Linked DNA regions of Homo sapiens: all the other regions are linked to region 1. Evidence: promoter capture Hi-C in 16 types of primary human blood cells and fetal thymus (Javierre and others, 2016). All regions are on one chromosome and are shown on one strand. The core of a region is centred on a gene start or on the middle of the fragment in contact, and the rest is flanking DNA. Distances in the headings are between cores, read along the strand shown.

What was found. The method cuts DNA at HindIII sites, captures the fragments that hold promoters and counts their contacts. A CHiCAGO score of 5 or more calls a contact.
Region 2: a contact is called between a fragment that was not itself captured here and the fragment with the promoter of RNF175 in region 1, in 4 of 17 cell types (naive B cells, fetal thymus, total B cells and 1 more). The highest score is 7.3, in naive B cells.
Region 3: a fragment that was not itself captured here is called in contact with the fragment with the promoter of RNF175 in region 1 in 8 of 17 cell types (M1 macrophages, M2 macrophages, fetal thymus and 5 more); the score reaches 8.1 in M1 macrophages.
Region 4: a contact is called between a fragment that was not itself captured here and the fragment with the promoter of RNF175 in region 1, in 1 of 17 cell types (fetal thymus). The highest score is 6.7, in fetal thymus.

Annotation. Positions count from the first base shown.
Region 1 is chr4:153,758,445-153,761,626 of GRCh38, forward strand. RNF175 (ring finger protein 175) reads right to left here and starts at 1,580. Exons shown (of 9, transcript NM_173662.4): 1 at 1,353-1,580. The coding sequence starts at 1,418. The HindIII fragment of the contact is 8,763 bases long and covers 1-3,182 here.
Region 2 is chr4:152,847,197-152,850,378 of GRCh38, forward strand. All of the region lies in intron 2 of ARFIP1 (ARF interacting protein 1), which reads left to right. Among named protein-coding and RNA genes, the nearest start is that of ARFIP1, 69 kb to the left of the region's middle. RefSeq lists an enhancer at 9-509. The HindIII fragment of the contact is 1,321 bases long and covers 1,002-2,322 here.
Region 3 is chr4:153,145,769-153,148,950 of GRCh38, forward strand. No RefSeq gene overlaps it. Among named protein-coding and RNA genes, the nearest start is that of TRIM2, 57 kb to the right of the region's middle. The HindIII fragment of the contact is 363 bases long and covers 1,268-1,630 here.
Region 4 is chr4:153,190,318-153,193,499 of GRCh38, forward strand. It overlaps a transcript of TRIM2 not described here. Among named protein-coding and RNA genes, the nearest start is that of TRIM2, 13 kb to the right of the region's middle. The HindIII fragment of the contact is 175 bases long and covers 1,430-1,604 here.

The sequences.
Region 1 (3,182 bases), core at 330-2,829:
CCATACCTCCTGAGGGCAGCAGACTAGGCAGTGATGCCAGCCTTAAGGAAGAGCAAAGATCAGCAGCAAATCCACCAGTACTAGATCCTCTGACACTCCTGGCATGCATTCATCAATTCAGAACCTCCCTTTCGATAATCTGGGTTTGAAACCAGCAAGAAAGTCATGGAGTTTCATTTTAAGTTTCCCCATTTTGTGGTACACAAGCCCCTCCACAGCCTAGCCCACCCTTATTTTTTGCTATAAGCATTCCTGACCCCTAGGTTTCTGGCAGTCAGAGTGGACAGTCCCCTCTCTCTGCCTTGTCCCATGGCCATCCATCCCAATATTAAAAAAAAAAAAATCTCCAAGCCATTTGGTACTGTTGTTCCCTCCATCTAGAATTCTCTGGCCCATGAGGTCAGATCCTGTCCATTCCCCAACACCCAGCTCGAATGCCACGCCCTCACGGGTTGGAGGAGAAGGGGGTTAGTCAGGAGCAAGCCCTTCTCAGAAATCCTACAGTTCTTTGCCTGAACCTATTTTGGGACATTAATCTCTTCCTACCCGCTCTGTGAGTGATTTTTGTTGTTGTTTAAGAGTTATCTTTGCCCTTAAGAGTTATTTTTGTCCTCGTTTTACGGATGGGATTTGGGTTCCTCCAGGTAAGACCTACCCTCCTCCACCCCCAAATCCTCCTGGTACCTGGATGTAGCCTAAGAAGAATTGTCCTATGAACGAAGAATAAATTAAGATTGGGTTTGCAATTGACGCCAGCAGAAGCAGAAATGGGCTAGGTTGAGCACCAGGCAAGACAAGCTGACGATCAGGGTACACATCTTGAATCAGAAACCCTGGGCACAGACCAGCAGTCTGCGTGGTAACAGGCCCTCCGAGTGATTCTGATGACACTCGAGTTTGAGAACCAGGGCGGTCTAGCCAAAAGCCTGCAGTACACCCCTTCCCCTCTCTCGCAGCTTACGACCTTGACCCTGGGCTCTGGGGGCTTCCGCCGAGGAGGGAGGAGGGCACAGGCGGTCACAAAGGAGGGCGGGAGTGGAAGGGGTGAGCCTGGAAGAGAAAGTGCGAGGATGCGAGAAGAGGGATGGAGCGAAGGAAGAGGATCAGAAGGAGGAAAGGAAGGTAGCGGGGAGGGCACAGAAGTGGGGAGGGAGGGAGTGGAGGAGGGACTGGCACCCCGCACGGTGGCATCTTCCAGAAGGTCATGCGTCCGTCCCCACGTCTTTCCAGGGCCGGTTCTCCCCGGTGGGGCCCGGGGTCTTGGAGACCAGTCTGTGCAGCCTGCCCGGCACCAGCGTGAGCCCCGGGACCCCGGCCTGGCGTCCCCCACGCCCGCGCCCCCGCGCCAGTACCTGCTCCTGCTGCGGGGGGGCCTCCAGCACCGGCGCTGCCTTCCGCGCCGCCGTCCCCGCGGCCATGCCTGAGCCACTGTGCCTTCTCCAGGGCACAGCGCCTGCCGGGGAGGGTCCCGCAGAGTCCGCAGAAGGAGGCGCCGCGGGGCCTCGGGAGCCGAGGGTGAGAGCCGGATCTGCGGCGGCGGCGGAGCGGCGGCCCTGCCCGGGTTGTGCGGGGCGGGAGATGGGAGCCTCCCGGCACGCCCCGCCTCCGCCCCCTGCACGCTGGCCAGCGTCCTCCCCAGCAGCGGCCTCGAGGTCCCGGTCGCCAGCACCCCGGTTCCTTCAGAACCTCAGGCCTCCCATTCAGCCAGCCATTGTCGCCGATAAAGCGTCTTGAGCCCTACCGGGTGCGTGTGGCGGGAACCCCGGTTTTGTTACCGGGCGGCAGGACTGGAGGAGGGGTCAGAGGTGGGTAGGGAGAGAGAGGGGAGTAGAGGAGTGAGAAATGGCGGTGGGGGGGCGAGGGGTGCTGGGGAGGAAGAGAAGAGAGAGAGAGAGTTTCCTCTCCCTCAGAGGTGTTTATTAGGAGGCAGGAGTTCGGGTGGCTGTGCAGATACAGACTTTCCTCAGTTATCTGTGCTTCCTCCAAAGATGATGAAGGAGAGAAACTCCAATCTAGGGAGAGCGCAGACCATCTTGGCCCCTATGCTGCTCCAGGCCATGCAGGGCCCCTGCGACGCAAGCATCTTGCCTTTGCCCCTCTACCTCCAGGGTCTCCCCTCCCGCCTTTACAACTTAGGCCTAAGCCTGGCTTCAAGGTTGAGAACAAGCTGGAACGTTTAGGCAAGCCTTTAGAAATACCTGGGTGTTGATTTGGGGAAACAGAAAAGAGGAGCACAGAATTAGATGATGTGTCCTACGAAATACAGCTTACCCCTTTCCAGTTTGTGATGGCTCGTATTTGTCAACACCTACAAAGGAGGTGAACAGACCAAGATGGACATTTCTCTGCCATTGTGGAACGTAGAGCCTAACAGGGGATAGAGAAAAATAAGCATCTAAGTACAATTTATCACGGATGGTGCCTTGGTTTTCCAGCCTTAACTGGGCATCAGAATCCTATGGAGGAATGCTGAGTTTGTTAAAACTCAGAGTGCTGGCCAAGCACAGTGGCTGATGCCTTTAATCCCAGCACTTTGGGAGGACAGGGCGGGCGGATTGCTTGAACCTAGGAGTTTGAGACCAGCCTAGGCAACATGGTGAAGCCCCATCTCTATAAAATATACAAAAGTGAGCTGGGCGTGGTACACCTGTAGCCCCAGCTACTCAGGAGGTTGAGGCTGGAGGATCGCCGGAGCCCGGGAGGTTCAGGCTGCAGTAAGCCGTGATGGAACCACTGCACTTCTGCCTGGACAACAGAGCGAGACTCTATCAAAAAACAAAACAAAAATCTTCAGATTGCTGGAGTTGAGCCCTAGAGTTTTTAATATAGTAGGTCTAGGGTGGAGCCTGAGCATTTGTCTTTTGAACAAGTTTTCAGGTGCCGCTGGGGCTGTTACCTACATCTGAAGACTACCTTGTAGCATGATCAGAGTGTGTTGGAAAGAGTGTCTGAGATGGAGAGAACAGTGGATGCAAGGGCCGGAATGCTGGAGAAGGCATAATGAATTGGAGAAATAAAAATCATGGTTAACATTGATAGAATGCTTACCGTGTGCCAGGTGCCGTCCTGAGCACTCTACCTGTGTTAGCTCATTCAGTCTTCCTGACAATCCTGTGAGGTGGGCATTGTGACCGTCCGTGTTTTACACGGGAGAACACTGAAGCACAGAGAGGTCCAGAAGT
Region 2 (3,182 bases), core at 412-2,911, 910 kb before region 1:
ATCTCGGCTCACTGCAACCTCCGCCTCCCAGGTTCAAGCTGTTCTCCTGCCTCAGCCTCCCAAGTAGCTGGGACCACAGTCATGTGCCACCACGCCCGGCTAATTTTTGTATTTTCAGTGGTGACAGGGTTTCGCCATGTTGGCCAGGCTGGTCTTGAACTCTTGACCTCAGGTGATCCTCCTGCCCTGGTCCCCCAAAGTGCTGGGATTACAGGCATGAGCCACTGCACCCGGTGTCTTCTTTTTATTAAGATGGGGCAGCAACAGCCAGATGTGGAGAGGATAATCATCTTAGTATTATCTCAGTTTTTTACAGCAAAAATATTTCTGCTTCTAAATAAATGCATTTTATTTAGAAAATAAAAATAAAATTATTATTTTAAGAATTATTCTTTAAAATTATTCTTTTAAAAATTATTCTTTTAAAAAAGAGTATTACAATTTAATCTAAATAATTCAAATTACTCTGATTTGTAAACTGTGTGTAGTATTTGTAATGGATGCTGTTATAGTGCTGGTCAAAATTAATTAGAAATTTGCAACTCATACCATGAGTTTAAGAGCAGAAGCAAATCATACTAACTCCACATGGTTGAAACTTCTTGTGAATTAATTTATAGTTGGTAGATTTAAAGACATTGCCTCCTTAGACCTAGCTAAAATGGAATTTTTCCCGTGGAAGGCCCAAAACAAAAATCCACTAATGTAGGGTGTTTTTACCTATGAACACTTTCTCTAGCAAAATGTCCATACACAAACCTACCAAATTTTGCATTCAGATTTAGTGAGCTTAGGACCCCCTGAACCCTGCATAAGGGTTCTCAGGTTCCCTGAGTCTTAAGAACCCCCCACCTGTAAGTTTTAAGTGATATCACAGAGTATTCGTTCAGTAGAACTACCTTAGAGATCTCGGAGTCTCACTATGTTATTTTATAGTGGAGAAAAAAGGCCCTTGAAGTTGTTATGGAATTACCCAGTATTAATTAAATAGCTGTACCAAAAGCTTATGTGATTTGACTATAACTGCAGTGAGTGCAAGAGCGCTCTCTTTCATTACCTTATTTCCAGGGTTTGGTAACAGTTTTTGGCACTTACTACCAAAGAGGGCCTTTCAATAAATGGTGAATAAATGAATGTTTATTCACGTAAGAACGAGGACGAGGACTAGAAACCAGATTTTTAGACTTCTCTGAAAAACCAGGGAAGAGATATTGTAATCTTATATTTGATACATCTTGTGTCCTTAATTTCCCTGCATGTGGTATTTGGGTTTGTGAGTGTGAGTCTTTGTTGTTATAGTTTTATTTTTAATGATTTTGTTGAGCTAAGTCGTTTCTTCATTCCCTTGTACTTAGCAGTCTGCAATATCATACACTACGATCTGCAGAAGATTTGGGAAAGAAATACAAGAAATTGTTGGAACACTGTTCCTCCAACTCCTACCCCCACCAGTCACATGTTGTAACTTATTTATCTCCTTTTCCCAAGAGATTGGAATCACTGTTAGGTCAGAGATAGTGTGTATACACAGCACAAGTTTTGGTTCATAGTAGTTGCTCAATAAAAGAATGAATTCTAGTAAATAGACTTAAAAGTTGACATCTTTTCTCCTTCAGCCATCCTACCCTAGGGTTTTCATAGCATGTGATTACAGTTTGTCTCCATTCTATATAGGAATGCAATATAATGTTTCCACGTTACTCACACATAAAAAATGTAGTAGCTCGGTCAATGGCAATAATGATTTGATGGGGGCTTTTTCAGAGAGCCAGTTTTGACCAAATATGTATGTTGATCCCTTTTAGAGGTATGGCAAATGGTTTTCAAGGATTGTTTAACCCATACAAATCTAGATTCATTTTAATACTGTTTGCTTTTCAGCTATAGGCTATACTTTTAATACTATTACTACAAATTAAAATTTTAAGTATATTTTTAATATACACATACATTAAATTAATTCTGGATTGAGAGTCCTGTTGAAAATACAATTCATAATGAAAGGTTGAAGGCTTATCTGTCTTAATTATAATCTGAGAGTGTGCCCTTATTTATAAACAAAAGCTATTAGTAATATGTTTTTTTTTATTTCTTGGAGGAATTTTGTTGAAAATACAATTCATAATGAAAGGTTGAAGGCTTATCTGTCTTAAATTATAATCTGAGAGTGTGTCGTTATTTATAAACAAAAGCTATTAGGAATATGTCGTTTTTAAATTTTTTGAAGGAATTATTTTGAATGTAGATACATATAAATATTTCCACAGTGATAGTATGTGAATGAATTCAGTATTTCTTTGATGCAAGTTGGTACATGATTCAAGCTTTTGAACTACTTAGAATCTAGACTAAGTGGGTGAGGCCAAGAGGGTAGGCAGTGAACCACCAAAAGGTACTTGTAAGTTCTTGTTAAATATTGTTGAATGAATGGGAGAGAGGGAGAAAAGAAGATTGAAATTGTGTGTCTGTGGCAGGCAGGTGTGTGTGTGTATGGTGGTAAATGGAAAAAAATCAATAAAAATGTTAGATTTACTCTCTTGATTAGATGGAATAAGATACAGGAGGATATTGTGATCATAAAGTGAGTTATTAAACTTATTTAAAGTGAGAATCTAGAAGTGTTGCTTCCGAAGTGATGACAAGGTCTAAGAGTGGCAATTTGAGTTTAGGTTGCCTGAGTGGAATATGGGGTATGAAAGATGAAAGGCATTAGAAATGAAGATGTTAATGAAATCTGAGACTAAGGTGTAGATTGGGTTATACTAAGTCTAAAATGTCTTTTATCTGCCCTGACACTTTTTTGGCATGTTGTCCAACTACAGATTCCCAAACCTGATCCAGATTACCAATTTTACGCATTTCTGCAAGTATACGGAGGGAAAATAAAATCACATACCTTTACATATCATTATTACTATCCCCTGTCATTCTGCATCAGCATAGGTAGGCAGGCTCATGGAACAGATTTTAAGTGTTTTACAATTTATATTTTAAAATATAGCAACTTACTACCTACCATAACATTAGTGGACTGTATTTTTAATGATCGGTGAAAACTTTCAGCCTAGACAGCGAATATATCAGCTTGGAAGGAATTGCTAACTGAACATCTATAATCATTTCCTGAAAATGTGCCCACCAACATGCAAAAGGTTAGAAACACCCAGTTTAATGGTGAGAGT
Region 3 (3,182 bases), core at 199-2,698, 610 kb before region 1:
AAATGGTGACTGCAGTCCTGCAACTTCAAGGAACTGGATTCTGCCAACAGCCTGAATGAACTTGGAGGTGGATTTCATCCTACAGCCTCCAGAAGATAATTCAGCCCAGTCAACACCTTCAAGTCCATCCTGTGATACCATGAGCAGAAAACCCGCCACAATGTTCAAGCCTGCTGACCTATAGAACCATGAGAACTGTGAGCTAACAAATAAATGTAGTTATAAGCCACTGTTTGTGATGATTTGTTACAACGATAGAAAACTAATATATATGGTATGTGTATGTTTAACTTCATAAGAAACCTGCTCAATTGTTTCCAAAAGCAGCTACACCATTTTACACTTCTACCAGCAATGTAGGAGAGTTCCAGTTGTTCCACATTCTTGACAATACTTGATATTGTCAGTCTTTTTGATTTTTAACCATTCTCATATAGTGGCATTTCATTGTGGTTTTAATTTGCATTTCCCTAATGACTAATAGTGTTAGGCATCTTTTCATATGCTTATTTGCTATCCCTGTATATCTTTTTTTTTTTTTCTTCAGACAAGTCTTGCTCTGTTGCTCGGGCTGAAGTGCAGTGGCATGATCATAGCTCACTGTAACCTTGAACTCCCTGACTCAAGAGATCTTCCCATCTCAGCCTCCCTAGTAGCTGGGACTACCGCCGTGCACCACAAGGCCCAGCTAATTTTATTTTTTATATTTGTAGAGACGGAGCCTCACTATGTTGCCTAGGCTAGTCTCAAACTCCTGGGCTCAAGCAATCACCCTGACTTAGCCTCCCAAGGCACTGGGATTACAGGCATGAGCCACCATGCCTGTTCATTCTTTAGTAAAATGTCTGTCCAAATCTTTAGCCCACTTTTTAAATTGGATTATTTGTCTTATTATTTCAAAGCTCTGCTTGGCTGATGGTAAAGTTAATAAAAGACAGAACTGGCTGGGCGCAGTGGCTCACGTCTGTAATCCCAGTACTTTGGGAGGCCGAGGTGTGTAGATCACCTGAGGTCAGGAGTTTGAGACCAGCCTGGCCAACCTAGTGAAACCCCGTCTCTACCAAAATACAAAAATTAGCTGGGCATGATGGCATGCACCTGTAATCCTAGCTACTCCAGAGGCTGAGGCAGGAGAATTGCTTGAACCTGGGAGATGGAGGTTGCAGTGAGCTGAGATCACGCCACTGCACTCCAGCCTGGTCGATGGAGCGGGACTCTATCTCCAAAAAAAAAAAAGAAGAATAAGAAGAAGGCCGAACTGTAAGAAAGCTTGATTGCAGGAGGGAAACAGGGTAGAGCAGGCCTTTTTATGGGTGGGGGTGGAGAATGTCTGCCAACCCTCCATGGCTTACGGTTTGAATTTGAATGAGCCACATACAAGGGAAGAAGATAAAAAGCCTGGGGCTTGAGCAGGGCTGGAGGCCAGATAAGAGATGCCCAATCTGAAGCCAGAACCCCTGAAAAGCAACACAATGATTATACAAGGGAAAAATGTACCTACATAACACCATGTTACCTATCTCAGGCTTGGCTCTGGGTGAAGTATGGAGAAATGCTCAGAACTGCCCAACCATATGCTCCAACTCACAAGTGTGTGAACCTGAAATGTACACTTGCTACTGGGCTTGAAAGCTTTAAACATAAAATTTATTTTAAAGTGGTTTCATGTGGGAAGTGTCTCAATCTTCCTAATTCACCTACCTGGGCATTGCACTTTAACACAGAGTTCCCACAGGATAAAGCTTCCAGATACAAGAATTCACCATAAATAAAAACCACTAAATAAACAGGAAAATAAGACATGAGTAAGTGTCAGCTGAGACAAAAAGCTGCTGACTTAAACCTGCAAAGGCTGAATACTAGAGTGATCGGTATGGAATATTAAATAAGTGTGTTTGACATTTTGTAAAAATAATATAGTGGAATACAAGCATAACATGAAGCAAAACACCTAAAGTTGACAGATTAACTAGAAAAAGAAGCAAAAATTAGATGGCAGCTGATTCCTCAATAGCAACAGTGAAGCTGTAAGACAGCGGAATTATATTTCAAAGTATTACTTGAAAATAACCATGAGACTGGGCGTGGTGGCTCACATCTGTAATCCCAGCACTTTAGGAGGCCAAGGTAGGTGGATTGCTTGAGGCCAGGAGTTTGAGACCAGCCTGGGCAACATGGTGAAACCCCGTTTCTACAAAAAAAATACAAAAAATTAGCCAGGCATGTGGCAGCTCCAGTCCCAGCTACTCTGGAGGCTGAGGTGGGAGGATCACTTGAGCCCAAGAGATAGAGGCTTCAGTGAGCCATAATCACAACATTGCATTCATTCCAGCCTGGGCGATGAGTGAGACTCTGTCTCAAAAAAAAAAAAAAGAAAGAAAAAGAAAAAGAAATAACCGTGAACCCCAAAATCATGTCAAGTGAAACTGTATATCAGAACAAAACCAAAATGAAGACATTATCAAACCAAAGCTGAGATAATTCAGTAATAAAACACTCTATGAATCTTCCCAGGGATGTACTTTAAGGAAAAGGAGAATGATCCCAGAAGGACATTCTGAGAAGCAAAAAGGAATGATGAGAAATATAGGTAAAAACTGTGTACAAATATAAGCAATGTTGCATTTATAAAATATTAATAATAGTGGGCTGGGCACTTTGGGAGGCCAAGGTGAGAATTGCTTGAGCTCAGGAGTTCGAGACCCACTTGGCAACATAGCAAGACCTCTTCTCTATTAAAAATTTAAAAAATTAGCTGGGAGTGGGGGCATGTGCCTGTGGTCCCAACTACTCAAGAGGCTGAGGTGGGAGGATCACTTGAGCCCAGGAGGTGGAGGCTGCTATGAGCTGTGATCTCGCCACTGCACTGTAGCCTGGGCAACACAGTGAGATCCTGTCAGAAGAAGAAAGACAAAGACAAAGGAGAAGAATAAAAAGAAGGTCTAATTGAAGGGTCAAAAATGTGCAATGTAGAACTAAAATCCTGGAAAAAAAAAAAGCCTACAAATTAGGATAAACACATTTGCCAAAATGAGCACATTCTTCCATGTGCCAGGTCCTGTGCTGAGTATTCTTCAGGCATTATCTCACTTAATCCTTCCAACCATGCTGAGTAACGTGCTATTATTAATCCCATTTTTCAAATGAGAACACACAGGAAGTAGCAGCTGAGATTTAAAGCC
Region 4 (3,182 bases), core at 267-2,766, 570 kb before region 1:
CAGATAGTGGTGGGTATGACTTGATTTTTAGTGCCATTCATTACAGTAAGTAACATTTACTGAGCACCTACATTGTGCCTGGCACTGTGCTAAGTGCATTTTATGATTTATCTCTGTATTCTTCACAGGACTTAGGGGAGGATGCTAATATTATCACCAGTTTACATATGAAGAAGTTGAGGCTTAAAGATTTTTTTTTAAAGCAGCCCAAAATCTCAAAGCATATAAGTTATGGGGCCCGACTCCAGAATCTACTGTTAACCATCTTTTCATGACAAGAAATAGAAACAAAACTCAAACTAACTCAGAAAAAAGATGGATGTCATTGGGAGGAATACTAGGGCATCTGACAAGACTCAGAGATGCATTTGGACATTAGGGACAGCTGCAACCAGGGTCTGGAATGCTATTCTTTTCTTTTTTTATTTTGTATTTTTTGAGATGGAGTCTCACTCTGTTGCCCAGGCTAGAATGCAGTGGCACGATTTCAGCTCACTGCAACCTCTGCCTCCTGGTTTCACGCAATTCTCCTGCCTCAGCACCCCGGGTAGCTGGGGTTACAAGTGGCCGCCATCATGCCCAGCCAATTTTTGTATTTTAGTAGAGACAGGGTTTTACCATGTTGGCCAGGCTGGTCTCGAACTCCTGACCCCAAGCGATCCACCACCTCAGCTTCCCAAAGTGCTGGGATTACAGGCGTGAGCCACCGCGCCCAGCCTGGAATGCTATTCTTTTTCTCTGTCTCTTATTTCTCCTTCTCTATGCCTTTTAGCTTTATTCTCTTCTTCTGAAGCTTAGCTTTTTTCACTTGGCAGGAATACAGATGATTAAAGCTGGTGACCTCCTATCTTATGGAGTCAAGCAGCAGGAAGGATTGGTTCTTTTCCCTTAGTTTTAGTTCAAAAAGTCCAATGATGGGCTTAGTTTGAGTTGGGGCCTCCCTTGTTTTCCCCAACCCCTCTTTTCCAGATCAGTCATCTATGGCTAAACAGTCTGAGAAAAATTATTGGCTTAGCTTGGATTAATCATGAGCAAGATCATATAGCACAAACACGGCCTTGGGGGCCATCCCTGTGTCCCGGACAATCCTGGAGAAAGAGATAACACTTTAAATTGAACATCCATCCCCGAGTGGATGCTTAAAAATGCAATAATGAGGAACACAGGTTACTTTAAACGTAAAATATTTAAGTGAGAAATGCATAGCTGTATAACTGAGTTGTATGGGGATTCCCCAGAAATCAGACAGTCTGTGCTTTCAGAAAATGTACCCAGATTTTTTGTTCTTAGGCACAATTCTGGAGAGGCATTCTAAGCTATTGTTTGGTACTTCTTATTTATTTTTTAAACAGTAGATTTCCTTCATGATGATATAGTTCTGAAAATAAGTGAGCCTGATGACAAGGTTGAAAGGATTTTTGTTTTCATAAGCTTCTTCATTTCAGTAATTTCAGAGACTGGGAGTCACACAGTCTGCAATGTTTAACAAGCCTTCCTATAGTATATAGAAGCTCCTTTTCATAAACATCCCTAAAGTCATCGTGCCGCAAGTTAAGCCTGTTTTCTTTGAGTTTGTTCTCAGAAGAAATGGGTATGAGCATAGAAGCTTCCCTTCATCAAACCACGTAGTTGCATCCTCAGTTCCTAGCATGTCCCCTCTGGGTTTATTGTCCAGTCAGCCCTTTTATTATCTCAGTTACTCTCTGTGAATCTCCTCTGCCATCTCCACGTACCCCTTTTTGTTGCCAAGCCCAGATCTAATTGGTCAGTCTTTTAGTGAAACCCCAGAGCAACAAAGACAATTCCTCACCCCACACCCTTCCCCAGGCATCCCGCACCACAGTGATTGTTTAAGCACAGGGCCACAGGCCAACTTGTTGCATTTGAATTCCACTATAACCAGCATTGTATCTGTATTCTAAAAAGTGTCAAGTCTCTACATTACAATCAAAGCATCAATCTCTAAACAGTGGGGGAGAAAATGTACCTCAAGGTTAAGAGAATCTAGGCTGGGAGTGGTGGCTCACACCTCTAATCCCAACACTTTGGGAGGCCAAGGCAGGTGGATCACTTGACCTCAGGAGTTTGAGACCAGCCTGGGAAACATGGCAAAACCCCATCTCTACAAAAAATACAAAAATTAGCTGGGCATAGTGGTGGGCGCCAGTAGTCCCAGTTACTCAGGAGACTGAGGTGGGAGGACCACCTGAGCCTGGAAGGTCAAGTTTACGGTGAGCCATGATCATGCCATTGCATCCCAGCCAGAGTGACAGAGACCCTATCTCAAAAAAAAAAAAAAAAAAAGAAAGTTAAAAGAGTCTAACAGCAAGTAGAACAAATGGAATTAATGATGACAGTTCGATATATTGTGCCCATCACAGTCAGCAGATCCAAAACAGCCACTAAGCACTAGATCCAGGAGTCCCCGGGCCTTTGCACCCACTGTTCCAAACACTACCAAGGATGCTGTTTTCCCAGACAGCCCATGGCACACTTGATGGGCCCATCCAGATCTTCTCACAGAAAGTGTTTCTCAGTGAGGCTTTCCTTGACCATCCTATTTAAAACTGTGACTTTCTGGTTCAGACCAGCCCACCCAAGTCCACCATCAGTTGTTCCCAATCCTCTTTTAAAGCTGTTTTATTTTTCCTGGCAGCACTTACTGGACATGGTCTATAGTTTTAGTTGTCTATCTGTAATTGTCTGTCTACCCTAGTAGAATGTAACTTCTGTATGTTTTGTTCACTGCTTTATTCCTCATCTCTTAGGAGCATGCCTGCCTACCACAGAGGGACCCTTAGTGAATAATCTTTTTTTTTTTTTTTTTTTTTTGAGGCAGAGTCTCACTCTGTCGCCCAGGCTGGAATGAAGTGTCGCGATCTCAGCTCCCTGCAAGCTCTGCCTCCCAGGTTCATGACATTCTCCTGCCTCAGCCTCCTGAGTAGCTGGGACTACAGGTGCCTGCCACCACGCCAGGCTAATTTTTTGTATTTTTAGTAGAGACAGGGTTTCACTGTGTTAGTTAGGATGGTCTCGATCTCCTGACCTCGTGATCCGCCCGCCTTGTCCTCCCAAAGTGCTGGGATTACAGGCATGAGCCACCGCGCCTGGCCCATGAATAATCTTTAAGTGAAGAAATCTATGAATGCAAGTAGAATTCTTTGTGGTGAGGAAGAGCACTT